3 separate regions of the Homo sapiens genome follow, and regions 1 and 2 are each linked to region 3. Evidence: promoter capture Hi-C in human tissues and cell types (Jung and others, 2019). All regions are on one chromosome and are shown on one strand. Each heading gives the region's core, a stretch centred on a gene start or on the middle of the fragment in contact. The rest is flanking DNA. Distances are from core to core; before and after follow the strand shown.

Region 1 (4,214 bases), core at 701-3,200, 1.8 Mb after region 3:
ACTTCTTATGCAGCCCGCTTGTTTCAAAGGAGCGTCGGCGACAGGGAGGGGAGGATCTCAAGACCTTTAATTAGCTGGGAATTGCACCCTCTCTAGTGGCTTGCTTGTGAGAACTAGAGAGCTAAGGAACAGCTCCTCAAAGAGGAAGATGGCACTTGCCAGAAGGCAGAGCTAAAGCACGCAGGTGAGTCCTGGGTTCTGATGGGGCAAGAGTTCTCCATTCCAGCAAACTCCAGACAAGAGCCAGCAGCAGGGGGGCACGCAGCCTCCACCATTGCACATGCCCTGTGTGTGCCAGGGAAGTGACCCTCTTTTCCTGGGGTCTAACTTCCCTGTCTGCAAACTCTTGTGTTATGAGCAAGGCAGGCTGGGCGGGACCCCTTGGCGGAGAAGGGAAGAGCCACACCTCCCTAAGGAAGTGACTCCCACCTCTCTTCCATCACCTGCTCCTAAGGGAGCGGCTCCCACCTCTCTTCCGTCCCCTGCTCCTAAGGGAGTGGCTCCCACCTCTCTTCCATCCTCTGCTCCTAAGGGAGCGGATCCCACCTCTCTTCTATCTCTTGTCCCAGACATTCTAGTTTTTCAAGAGAACCTGAAAGCCTGGATTTGTAAATTTAAAAAATCTTTCATTTTTAAACTGTGTGCAACCAATTGAAAGCAAAAGTGTAATATCGGACAAGTCAAACAAAACCCAACTGTGAGCTGGCTCCAGCCATCAGGCCACTCTTCAAGTTTCATTGCACTCATAGGCCTCTCAGAGGGCCCCACCTAACCTTCCATGCCCTGTGTCTGCTTGTCTCCCCGAAAGCAGATGTGCAGTGAGAAGACAGATGCTACACCCAGATCTAATGTGTGGTCTCTGGATCAGCAGCACAGCCATGACCCTGGAGCTGAAGGGCAGGATAGAGGGTCCTCCCCAGAACTACTGAGTCAGAATCTGCATCATAGCAAGATCCATGGGGATCTGGTTGCACATGAGACTTTGAGAAACACTTGTCTAAAAACAAGTAAGATAAAAGAGTCAAGCATGGTGAAACCCTCTCTCCTCTCCAGGACTTGGAAATGCCCAGATAACGGCACCTTCCCTCATGTTTAATCTTTTCCACCCAACCTTACTAGGCTAGAAATAGCCGCCATTCGGTCCTGGGAGGATCCTGGATTCTGACGGGGCATCGAGAGTGGATGCAGCACTGTCACTGGGTTCCCCGCCTTGGTGTTACAGCTTCCACTGCCCACACGGGGAGTAAGAAGTGGGTTTCCAGAATAATCCCTCTCTGGCTTCCATCGCTGCAGGAGACTTTACAGCCACCAGGGATGACCCCAAGCCCACGCCCCAGGTGAAGGTCAAGCAACCGGAACAATGCCACTCAGCTCAGATCACTAGGACAGGAAGCCCAGGAAAATTCCCTTCGGAGATCAGCCTTCTACGAAACTAGAAGTTGCATGCTACTGACTCCAGACCCAGGAGAGGCAGACACAGCACACACAGTAAAGGGGGAAAAGTTTCCTGGTGAGTCCTACAGAATGACGGGGCTCATTCACTCCTTAGAAAAGCACCTCTCTGCATCCATGGGGGCCTCAGGATGACGGTGGAAATGCCTGCTGCCATCTCAGCTTTACTTGCGTGACTCTCCCCAGATCCCCAGGCCTCGTCAGCAGAGACACATCTATCGATAATTACAGAATACACAGCTTTGGGGGGCATTTCCCTTCCATTCACGACATTTAGTGGTGTCAGTCTGAGCATAAATACAATTAGATTTGAGAGTTCTATTACAAAAGCCAATAAAGCGGGCCTCAGTAGAGATTCTAAAATTACTTAACTTTTCTTTAGAAAAATATTAAAACAGTATTATCACATCAATGAGAAGAAAAGACAGCAAGATAATAAAGTTATGTTAAACCTCCCTGTATTTACTCATGTGTGAAACAGTTATGTCTGGTCACATAATTGCAATGGTTCTGAGAAATATTTCATATTTTATAATGAACATTAAAAGAGTTTGTGGATCATTACTTTATATGAGTTCCAAAGTTATTACATAAAACCCAATAGGAATGGTTATAAATTATCAGATCCTCTGGCCTGGCCTTGGTAAACATAACATGAAGACTGAGACATTTCAGCAGACAAGATTCATGAGAAGAGGTAAAAATTCTTCCTGCATTTTAAGGAGAAAAGAAGACCAGAGTACTTGTAACCAGCTCTTAGCATTTTTGTTTCTGTTTCAAAGAAATTCTATTGAACCACTTGCTTAAGCCACACACACACAAAGCTTCTGTTAGAACAAAAGAGTAGTTCCTTTAGACACTGCCCTCATCGCCTCATTTTTCATTATCCTATCTGTGGCCTTAAGGTCACTGCCAAATTCTTGAATTTTTCAACACAGTGTGGGTTTAAAATGCTGTACTTAGCAGGCTCATACGATACCCAACAATTCTTTATTTTCAAAAGGAGATCCTCTCTTTGAAATCTGAAAATATGGCATCTTTACAGAAATTGGAGAGTTGATAACATTCTGAGGAAGTTTTCTTTTGGGGTCTGCAGAATAGGTTTGCAGACAGAATTTTAATTACAAACTATCATTTGTGAACCACGGTTAAGCATGAAATGGATGCTATTCAATTTCCTCGTGCTTATTCTCTTTTTTAAAAATAAATCACAGCATTATATTTTGTTCTGAAAAATCACACCTGGAGCTTCCCTTCCTCCCTCCCCCTTGCTTTCTGCACGGTGAAAGAGTTAAGTATGGGAAGAATAGCAGCTGGGTAAACAAAGTTAAGGACCAGAGAAGTAACGTCAAATCTTCTTGTCAGCATCCAAGAGGCACAGTGCCCAACTGGGGCGCTTTCTGATGAAACACACAGGCAACATTTGCTACCTGGTTCTAGGAAATACAGGCACCTCCCTCGCCTTTGTCCAAAGCAGCCCCGCTTCCGGTACCTGTGGAGTGAAGGTGGGCGCCCGCCCTCCAGGACCCCACCTAACCCCTCTGAGGCTCCCCTACCTGCCAACTCCCAACCTTATCCCGGGTTCTCCCCTTTATGTGGCGCAGCTGTTGGTGAGGCTTTCTCAGCAAACAGATGTCTTTTGGAGAATTTAAAGCTCTGAGTTGGAGGCCAGATTCTGACTGTACTTTGAATTATGTCTGCCTCGATCATTATGCAGTCATTCACATATATTTTAGACATCAATATTGTCTTGAAATATTCTCGAGTTCTCAATGCTATTTATATGCTTCCATTCTCTCCTTTGCTTCTGCTCTGACAGTATGCTCCAACGTCCCAGCGTCACTGACGACTTGCAGATCATTTTAACACATATTTTCATTGGTGAGGGCTTTGCCATTTCATTTAACATGATTTCTCGCTAAATTGAGCAGAGATTGACATTCTTGGGACAACAACCAACCTTGGTCATCTGTTTGGATGGAGGATTTACCCAGTTCAGTATTTTTTAAGATGAAACAGTGTCATGTGTTGCCTCTTTCTACGGACAGCAAGTTTTTACCAATGACAAAAGAAAGATTCTAAGGATGCCAATTTACAATGTGGGAGGAAAAAAAATCTCTCCTTGCTTATTTACAGAAATGCTCATCGGCTAACATATGAGATTCTGATATAATGTAAGCCCATAGGTAAAAGAAAAAGCAAACTCAAACTGTGAAAACAAAGCAAAACAAAACAAAAACAGATATTTTCAGGACTTAAAGAGTAACAAGAAAAGGAGAGAAATCTTTGGGGCTCTTTCAGCACATTTAGTTCTAGGCCAAGTTTAGGAAAACCGTCATGGCCCCTCAGAGCTTCATATGGTCACCAAGAGAGCCAATCTGATTCAATGACTACTCTTACTTTCAAACGGGGTCAGGGCTCTCACCACCACCACTCATCTATTGATCATTTTGTCCTTGTTTGCAGATCATCCCTTTGAAGTATTTTCGCAATGGCCTCTAGGTGCCGCTAACACTGCATAGCTTCAGCCTTTCTGCACAATGAAAACATTAATTTGCTATGAGATAATTTTTGACGTAAATGTAAAATGGTGCCCATTCGAACTCAGTAATGAAGCATGGTGCATTTCTGCAGCTCCTAATTTGACTAGTTAAATGACTCCATTACGTGTCTAACAGACAGAAGCAAATAATTTCTGGTCAGTTGATGTTCACTTACCCGTATCATTTTGCCCTGAAAATAAAGTCTCTAATCTACAATTC
Region 2 (4,456 bases), core at 160-2,659, 1.0 Mb after region 3:
ACTGCTGTTCCTACTGAATAATGACTGGCTCAACCACGAGAGGCAGTGCTGTGCCCTCATTTGCAAAAAGAGAAGGATACTTCCCTGTCTCCCTTTTGGAGAAGCAAGTAACCTGGAAATGGAAGTATTCTGTCCCCATTCAGAAGGATGGGCTAGGAGCCCACAGGAGTTTAGAGTTTAGAAATGCCCCCTCTGAATCCTCCCGCCTGGGCACACTGTGAGACACCCTTAGTCTTTACAAAGCACTTTCATATTCACTAATGCCTCTTACAGAGCAAGCGGAGCTCTCATTTCATTGCTAGCGGGGATACAAAATGCTACACTCACTTTGGAAAACAGTTTAGCACTTTCTTGTAGCATTATACACGCTCTTACCATTGACCTAGCAATCATTCTCCTAGGTATTGAAACTTAAGAGAAATGAAAACTTATGTTCACCCAAAACCTAGAGGTGCTTGTACATCGTGGCTTTATTTGTAATCACCCCAAACTGGAAACAACCCAGTTGTCCTCTAACTGATGAATGGATAAACAGATCTGGGTACATCCATGCAAAGGAATACTTCTCAGCACTGCTAAGACACAAACTTACTGATACATCCGACAACATAGATAAATCTCAAATGCATTACACTAGATGAAAGAAGCCAGACTTGAAAGGTGACATACTCTATAATTCCACATACGCTACACCCTGGAAAAGGGAAAGCTTTAAGGTGAAGAACAGATCAGAGGTTCAGTGGTTTCTAATGCGGGGGAGCTGGGGTTAAGGGCAGGCAGATAGTTTGACTACAAAAAGGCAGCATAAAGCAGTTTTGGGGGAGTAAGAAAACTATTCTAGGCCAGGCACGGTGGCTCATGCCTATAATCACAGCACTTTGGGAGGTCAAAAAGGGTGGATCACCTGAGGTTAGGAGTTCGAGACCAGCCTGTCAACATGGTGAAACCCTGCCTCTACTAAAAAAAAAAAAAAAAAAAAAAAAAAAAAAAAAAAAAAAAGCCAGGTGTGGTGCTGGGCACCTGTAGTCCCAGCCACTCGGGAGGCTGAGGCAGAAGAATCACTTGAACCTGGGAGGTGGAGGTTGCAGTGAGCCAAGATTGTACTATTGCATTCCAGCCCCGGCGACAAGAGCCAAACTCTGTCCAAAAAAAAAAAAGAAAAAAAAGAAAACGACTCTAAATCTTTTAAAAAAAATTTTTGAGATGGGGTTTTCCTCTGTCACCCAGGCTGGAGTACAGCGGTGCAATCACAGCACACTGCAGCCTCAACCTCCCAGGTTCAAGTGATCCTCCTGCCTTAGCCTTCCAAGTAGCTGGGGCTACAGGCACATGCCACCATGCCCAGCTAATTTTTAAAAAGTTTTTTGTAAAGATGGGGTCTCACTATGTTGCTCAAGCTGATCTTGAAGTCCTGGGCTCAAGCGATGCTCCTGCCTCAGCCTCCCAATGTGCTGGGATTACAGGTGTAAGCCACCACCACACCTAGCCACTGTTCCAAATCTTGATGGCAGTGGTAGTTATGTGATTTTGTGCATTTGGCAAAACTCAGAAAACTGCATCCCAAAAAAATGCATTTTATTATATGCAAATTAAAAAATGAATTTAAAAATATCCTATAGGCTTGGCAGTAAGCATGGTGGTTGTTTGAGGTTGCCTCCTCCCCATACAGTACTCATTTTGTCCTACTAGGAGTGCTCAGTAAGGCGTCAGGGCATGGCATTCACTGCAGATGCCTCCTGCTTCATGGACGTGGCCCCTGGAAACTGAAGGGTATGACTTAGATTACATGGGTCAATGAAAAGTTTTCTATTATTCTCTTCCTTGTGGAATGTGGACAAAGAAGCAATTAGTTCCACTCGCCATTTGTGGTCCTCTTGAAATCATAAGATAAAACACCTTGAGGATGAGATTATGCCGAAAACGAAGCGAAGAGTAAGAAGGCAGAGCAAACTGGCTTCCTGTTAATATAATGGAGCCATAATCTACCTCTTGCCAATTTCCTTAAGCCAGTGTGAGCAGGGGGTCGTATTTCTCACAGATAAAAGCATCCTAGGAAATATAGTGAGAGATGTCACTGAAACATTTCTGATCTGATCCACTGTCCCAAACCAATCTGAAACAAACCTGGGCAACAGAGAACTTGGGTGAAATAATGTGAAACATATATGCAACGGATAATGGCAGGACTTGAACAGGCATCTCACAAATAAGGCATTCCCGATCACCACGCAGATATAAAAAAGGTGCTCAAACTCATTAGTAATCATGGAAATGCAAATTAAACACAGTGAGACAGCAACCACAGCCGCTAGATTAGGAAACATTACAAATACGAAGAAACATTGCTAACAATATCATAGGCTGGCAAGGATGTAGAACAATGGGAACTTTAAAAACTGCTTGTGGGAGTGAAAATTGACACAATCATCTTGGAAAACAGTTAGAGCTGCAGATATGCAAACTCTGACCAAGCAATCCCACCCCTAACTATATATAAATAGGAGATATTCCCCATGTGAGTTATGGCATAGGAACAAACATGTTCGCAGCGGCATTCTTCATGATATCCAAACAATTGGGGGGAAAAAATCCTAATGTTTTCATGAAACTAATGTTTTCATAGTCTAGAACCTTGACCATGAACCAGCAACACAAATCCACATGGTTAAGTCCGAAAAACAATGCTGAGTAAGAGAAACAAGACACAAAATAATTCATACAACATGATTTCATTTATGAACATGACCAGGTATACACATCTAAATATTAAAACTACAAAGTAAGGCAAGGAAGTGATCATTACAAAAATTAAAAATAGAGGTGGCCTCCAGGAGAGGGGACTGGAATTGGGAGGTGTCGGGGGGTTTCAGGTGACTGAGTGTTGTGTATGCAGGTATTATTTAAACCGTACCTATATGATTCACACATTCTTTTACCTTTTGATGTATCTCACACACAGAAATGTAGGAAGACAAAAATCAGATTGCAGGGAAATTCAGAAAACCAGTCTGAAGCCAGGAATGTGCAATGAATGACCCTAAATCATGCATTCTAGAGGATCTGGCCCCAAAGAGAGACTATCTGGATGGCTCTACAGAGTGGTCACAAGCTTTGCTTCGCTTCATTATCATTTAATCCAGCCAAAGGCCTGTTAAAGGCTTTTGCTTTTAAGTAAAACTTGTCTCCTTTTAAAAGTGCCAATTTTTGGTGCCCTGTAATCCCAGAACTTTGGGAAGCTGAGGCAGGTGGATCACTTGAAGTTAGGAGTTCGAGACCATCCTGGCCAACCTGTTGAAACCCTGTCTGTACTAAAAGTACAAAAATTAGCTGGGTGTGGTGGTGCATGCCTGCAATCCCAGCTATTCGGGAAGCTGAGGCAGAAGAAACGCTTGAACCCAGGAGGCAGAGGTGAGTGCAGTGAGCCGACATTGTGCCACTGTGCTTCACCCTGAGCAGCAGAGCAAGTCTCTGTCTAAGAAAAAAAAAAAAAGTACCAATTTTCTCTTTTAAGTTTAATAAGAGTGTTAATCTTATAGAGTTCTCTTACTCATTTTTTTACACAGTTTAGATCAGATTTGTTCTCTACATGAGTCTATAGAGACTTAAGGTGAGCTACTCTATCCAACTGTTCCTTATTTGCCCGGAGAGCCTTTATCTTAAAAACTCAGTCATCAGAGCAAGAAACATAGCAGACCACAACCCAATGCCTCTTGAATAAGTAAAAGTATTAACACATCTTCCAGAGTCCAGGCATAAACTTCATGCAGTTTCCTTGTAGAAAATACCTTCCTGCTCTTATTTGAGCCTATTAACTCTACTCTTATTTTAAATATAAATCTAACATGCTCAGCCATCTGTTTCCAAGAATACATCAGCTAAGGAAGGTAAAAGTGAAGAAGGACTGCTCTAGCCAGTGACAGTTAAAAAGCTCACACTGTGAAAGAAGAGAGAGGAAAAAAACCTCTCAATTCTCCTAAGCTTCTGGAGGCATTTATTGTAGAGACAGCAATGAAATGTTGAATTAGAAATTGACCCAACCCCTTCTGTAAGAAATCAGGAATAAGTACAGTGCACCATAAATAATTGCCATCAAATATTTAGCAAAATGTGTTCAAAAGAGTAAGTTTAATATCTATTTTCCTGCAAAGGATAAGTCATTTTGTGAGAAGGCTAAAAATGTCCATTGAATCCAAGTCCCAATGAGTATATGTGCATGCATAGATACAAATATGTAAATACATATGCACAAGTACATGTACCTGTACACAGACATATATGGGAAAATATTCACTTATTGTGCGTGTGGCCGGGGCGTTGGATCCCATTAAATAATTCTGGATTTGGTTGGAATTCACCCCGTTAGCTGAACAATTCCGGAACAACTGCATCCTCAGCACAAAATGACCTTTTCATCAAGTTACAAAACATTAAAGGTTAAAGGATGTTTGAAAGGAAG
Region 3 (4,614 bases), core at 1,039-3,538:
GCTGGAGTGCAGCGGCACCATCACGGCTCACTGTAGCCTCTACTTCCACAGGCTCAGGTGATCCACCTCAGCCTCCCGAGTATCTGGACTACAGGCATGTGCTACTACACCTGGCTAATTATTTTTTGTAAAGATGGGGTCTCCCTATCTTGCCCAGGCTGGTACTGAACTCCTGGCCTCATGCGATCCTCCCCGCCTTGGACTCCCAAAGTGCTAGGATTACATGAATGAGCCATTGTGCCCAGCCTGCCCTCGATCTTGCCATCTAAATCGTTGCTGGCCTTCAAAGCTACACTCAAAACACAATTCAAATATTTATTCAACTCAATCATATTTATTCATGAAGCATGTGCTCTACAGCAGGCCCTGCCAGGAGTCAGGAATACAGGTAAGCAACACAAACGAGCCACTGCTTTTCTTCCAGAACATCTTGGGACATTCCAGTTCCGGCTGATCTTCTCCCTCCCTGAGCCATAGCAGTTACCACGCAATGCGTCACGTAACTACACAGTTGTATATTATTTTCTACTTCCATAGGCGGTAGTAGGTCTTCAGTACCTCCCACAGAAGTGGCCACGTGGGAGATACTCCATAGTAAATGTGTTGACAACCGGATTTTGAAGAATTAAAATATTGTTTTGTCTCAGGTACCTGAATTTTAACACCAGTGTTCTATAAAACAATTCACACTGGCAGCTTCAGGAATACGCCTCAGTGGTGATGACTGCGGGGGTGTGCCAATCAGGGCAGCTGCTATCCCAGGGAGCGTCGGTGGGAGTAATGGGTGGGGGGGAGCAGGAGCCTGGTTTGGCAGCAGCAAGTGGGAGGCGGGGGAGTGGTGGCAGTGAGTAAGCGGGTTCCAGTCCTCCAGAACATCTTGCTTCACTCCTCTGAATAATGAACAGCCTCTTACTAATTATTTCTTAAATGTGACTAGTAGCCTGACATGATTGTTTCCACAGTTTATTAATTCCTAAGGGTAACTTGCTCTACAGAACAAACCAACTAACATTATACAATTCATGTATTCATTCATACCAAAAAAAAAAAAAAAAGCAGGAAGCCAGATTTAAGTACTGTGCTTTCAAGCACTGGAAATGGAGAATCTGGAACAGAGAGGGAGAAGAGGAGTGTTTAACAAAGTCCTACAGCCACAGATGGGCTTATCCCCCATGTGACCTCATCCTAGAGTCCTCCCTAAGTGTGAGAGGACTTTTTTAAACAATTCATATATTCTAATATGTTAAGGCAGAAAACCAACACATATTTAAGTACCAATTATGTGTCAGGCACTGCAACAGTCCCATGAACTAAGAAAAAAAGTTCCTCCATCAGATCAAAAGGAATGCCATTGTAAACAACTGAAAAGGGACCAGAAGCGATTCTTTATTAATAAGGACGACTAGCGCTAGCCGGGCGAGGCGGCTCATGTAATCCCAGCGCTTTGGGAGGTTGAGGCAGGAGGATGACTTCAGACCATGAGTTTGAGACCAGCCTGGGGAACAGAGCGAGACCCTATCTATACAATAAAATAGCCAGGCTCGGTGGTGCATGCCTGTGGTCCCAGCTACTCCAGAGGCTGAGGTGGGAGAATCGCTTGAGCCCAAGAGTTCGAGGTTGCAGTGAGCCGTGATAACGCCACTGCACTCCAGCCTGGGCGAGACAGCGAGACCCCTGTCTCTAAAAAATAAAAATAAAAAAGCCTAGCGCTCTAGTGAGCATCCCCTGGACGAGGCAGGCACCGGGTCCGCTTACCTACGCGCCACGCCCCTGCACACCTGGCGTCCCCATCAGGTAGGTCTCCAAGGACAGGGGCAGCCGGGAAGTTCAGGCACGCGCCCCAGCTCTCCCAAGACCGCGAGCGGCCGCCGGGGTCGCAGCCCAGGCCCTGCCTCGCCGCACGGCCGACGAGCAGAAGCCGCTCCGCAAACTTGGTCCTTCCGGAGCCCAGCCCGGCCCGCGTCCCGGCAGACACTCCCGCGCTCCGCCCCTCCCGACGCCCCGACGCCGCGGCCGCGCCCCCCGACTGCGCCACGCGGCGGGGAGGGGCGGCCCCAGGGGCTCGGGGCTGTAGCCGAGGGTTCCGCCGGCGCCCGCCCGCCCTCTCGGTAGACCCTCGCCCGCGCGTCCCGGCGCGCCGCCACAGACCTGCGGCCTCAGCCGTCCTCACGCGCGGCTCCGGGAGGGGAAGGAGGCCGACGGGGCTAGGCGGGAACGGGGCCGCGCCACGGGCCGCAGCGCGCCGCGGGTACAAGGAGGGCAGAACCGCCGCGGAGCTTTGTGGAAATGAGGGGCTGGGGGGCGTCAACAGCCCCGGGGAGGGGGCGCGCCGGAGAGGCCGGGCGGCTGCCCCCGCGCCCATAGGCCCCGGGAGCTGTTCGTCAACACTAGGCCCCGCCTCCTCCCGCGGTTCCCCGCCTCGTCTCGTGCTGCGCTGGCCGGAAGGAAGCGGCACACTTCCGCTTGCCTGGTCCGCATTGAGTCCGGTCTGTTCCGGAGACTCTGAGCGCGGCCGCGGAGCTGCAGTGGCGGGGAGTGGGGTGCGGATCTTGTGTTTGCGCACGCAGTCGCCGGCCACCTCAGGCCGGAGCTAGAGATACGGCTCGGGATAGGAGGGCCCGGCGGCTCTGAGGCAGGTTCGCCTCGAGCCGCACGGCCCGGAGCAGCGGCTCCGCGGTGGTCCCCGGGGCTTGAGAGGGGTGCGGGCCTGGGAGCCCCTGAGGGCCTGATTTACGGAACTCCCCCTCCTTCCTCCTTTCTGCCGTTCCCTGCTCTGTGGCGGATGCGCAGGGATCAGTAGGGACGGCAGCAGTAGGGCCACTCGGGCCTGCCCCGCTTCCCGCATTGCCCGGTTTGGCGCGCCGCCTCCGGGCCTTGGCAAAGCCCCAGCGCCCGATTGTCACTGACCAGTGCTTGGAAGTCCTTTACCGACTGCCCGTCAGCGTCCCGCGGAGAGGATTTTGCGTCTCCAAAGACGCCCCTCTTCCGAAAACAGGCTCCTCTGTGTTCTCAGTCGGGTATATTTTTCTGTCTCCAAACTAGATTGGCAGCCGTTTTTTGAGAGCAGGTACTGACTGTGCTTTATTTCTAGATACTTTTCTTAGTCACACCACGGAAAACACTAGGTGGAACCTTTTTTAAAATTATTTTTTACAGGTGAGGCTCTCAGTCTGTCGCCCAGGCTGGAGTGCAGTGGTGCTATCACGGCTCACTGCAACCTCGGCCTCCTGGGCGCAAGCGATCCTCCCGCCTCAGCCTCCGGAGTAGCTGGGACCACAGGCTCGCACTACTATGCCCAGCTAATTTTTAAATTTTTCGTAGAGATGGGGGTCTTGCTTTGTCGTCCAGGCTGGAGTGCAGTGGTGTGATCGTAGCTCACTGCAACCTTAGTCCCCTGTGCCCAAGTGACCCTGCTTCCTCAGCCTCCTGAGTAGCTGAGATTCATTTTAATTTTTATAGTGATGGGGTCTCGTTGTGTTGACCAGTCTGGTCTAAAACTCCTGAGTTCAAGCAGGCCTCCTGCCTCAGCTTCTCAAAATGTTGGGATTACAGGCTTTAGCCACTGCAGCGGGCCCATCAAACGTTGTATTTGTCAGTACATAATTTACATGTTAATTGATTTTTGTTAAAGGGATGGCCATCTGGGACCTCCACCCGTGAAAAGGCGGCTCATTGGTCTGACTCCAACACTAAATTACGCCATCCAGGAAGCCTTTCCTAGTCACCTCTGTTGGAGATCGTCCTCCTTTGTGTGTCGGTTGTTAGTAAAGAGCACACGTTCTGTGGAAAGATGTTGAGGTATCTGCTGGATGGCTTTGATAGAAACAAATGTCAGCTGTTTTTTCAGATGGCATTTGTCTTGTTTCAGCCTGGTTGTTGGTAGCTTTTCTGTCGCCTGGCTTGAGGGCAAGGACTGTATGTTTATTTTTCACGTTAAGATGCCTTTATGTGCATGTGTCTGTTTCATGAATACATAGGTGAATTGAGTTCCCCTTAAATAGGATTTCCCTCTTATTTTATAGGTTTTTTTTTTTCTCTCAAGTTGTTTCACTCTGGGGGAAATGTGACCATTGTGAAATATCATCGCTTAGTTAAAAAGAAAGTAGAATTCAGCAGTAGCTGCTTTTTTTAATACTATGAAAAGACATTCCTAAGCAAGATGAAGCTTTGAGACTTTTCCTAAGTAGGACCTACTGCTGAGAGTAAGTCTTGGGGAGAATAAGCCAATTAAGAATGAGTCTTTGGTTCTGATAAAGTAACCATGGAGGTGATGGATAATGAGTGTAGGTCCTTGCTCACACTTCTGGCCATATGAGCCCGGAGCCAGGGAGGTACTATAAAAGGAATGGGCTCCTGTAATGGACTGTGACTGCAGTGGTGGTATATAGCAAGACTTCCGGTTTGCAGTAGGTTTAGAAGCCTAAATAGTCTCCCTGGTTGTCTCTGCCAGGGCCACAAATAGTTGTGCTGTGCATCTCAAAAGTGTGGTCTGGGGATCTGCAGCGTCACTGTCACCATCACTTGGGAGGTTGTTAAGAAATGCATGTTATCAGGCCCTACCCCACGCCTACTCAATTTAGAATCTGTAGGGCTAGGGGACCACTAATCTTTAAG

The links. The method cuts DNA at HindIII sites, captures the fragments that hold promoters and counts their contacts. A contact is called where the count stands out against the background at its distance.
Region 1: a contact is called between a fragment that was not itself captured here and the fragment with the promoter of DPY19L3 in region 3, in 1 of the 25 tissues and cell types used here (dorsolateral prefrontal cortex).
Region 2: a fragment that was not itself captured here is called in contact with the fragment with the promoter of DPY19L3 in region 3 in 1 of the 25 tissues and cell types used here (dorsolateral prefrontal cortex).

Annotation. Positions count from the first base shown.
Region 1 is chr19:30,649,933-30,654,146 of GRCh38, reverse strand. It overlaps a transcript of ZNF536 not described here. Among named protein-coding and RNA genes, the nearest start is that of ZNF536-AS1, 18 kb to the left of the region's middle. The HindIII fragment of the contact is 7,132 bases long and covers 1-4,214 here.
Region 2 is chr19:31,360,736-31,365,191 of GRCh38, reverse strand. The region is part of intron 1 of TSHZ3-AS1 (TSHZ3 antisense RNA 1); the gene reads right to left. It overlaps LOC124904794 (a long non-coding RNA gene), which reads right to left and starts at 911. Exons shown (of 2, transcript XR_007067377.1): 1 at 1-911. The HindIII fragment of the contact is 4,270 bases long and covers 1-3,544 here.
Region 3 is chr19:32,403,444-32,408,057 of GRCh38, reverse strand. It overlaps DPY19L3 (dpy-19 like C-mannosyltransferase 3), which reads right to left and starts at 2,288. Exons shown (of 19, transcript NM_001172774.2): 1 at 2,149-2,288. It overlaps DPY19L3-DT (DPY19L3 divergent transcript), which reads left to right and starts at 2,519. Exons shown (of 3, transcript NR_046201.1): 1 at 2,519-3,067. RefSeq lists silencers at 1,907-2,656, 2,687-2,736. The HindIII fragment of the contact is 7,870 bases long and covers 1-4,614 here.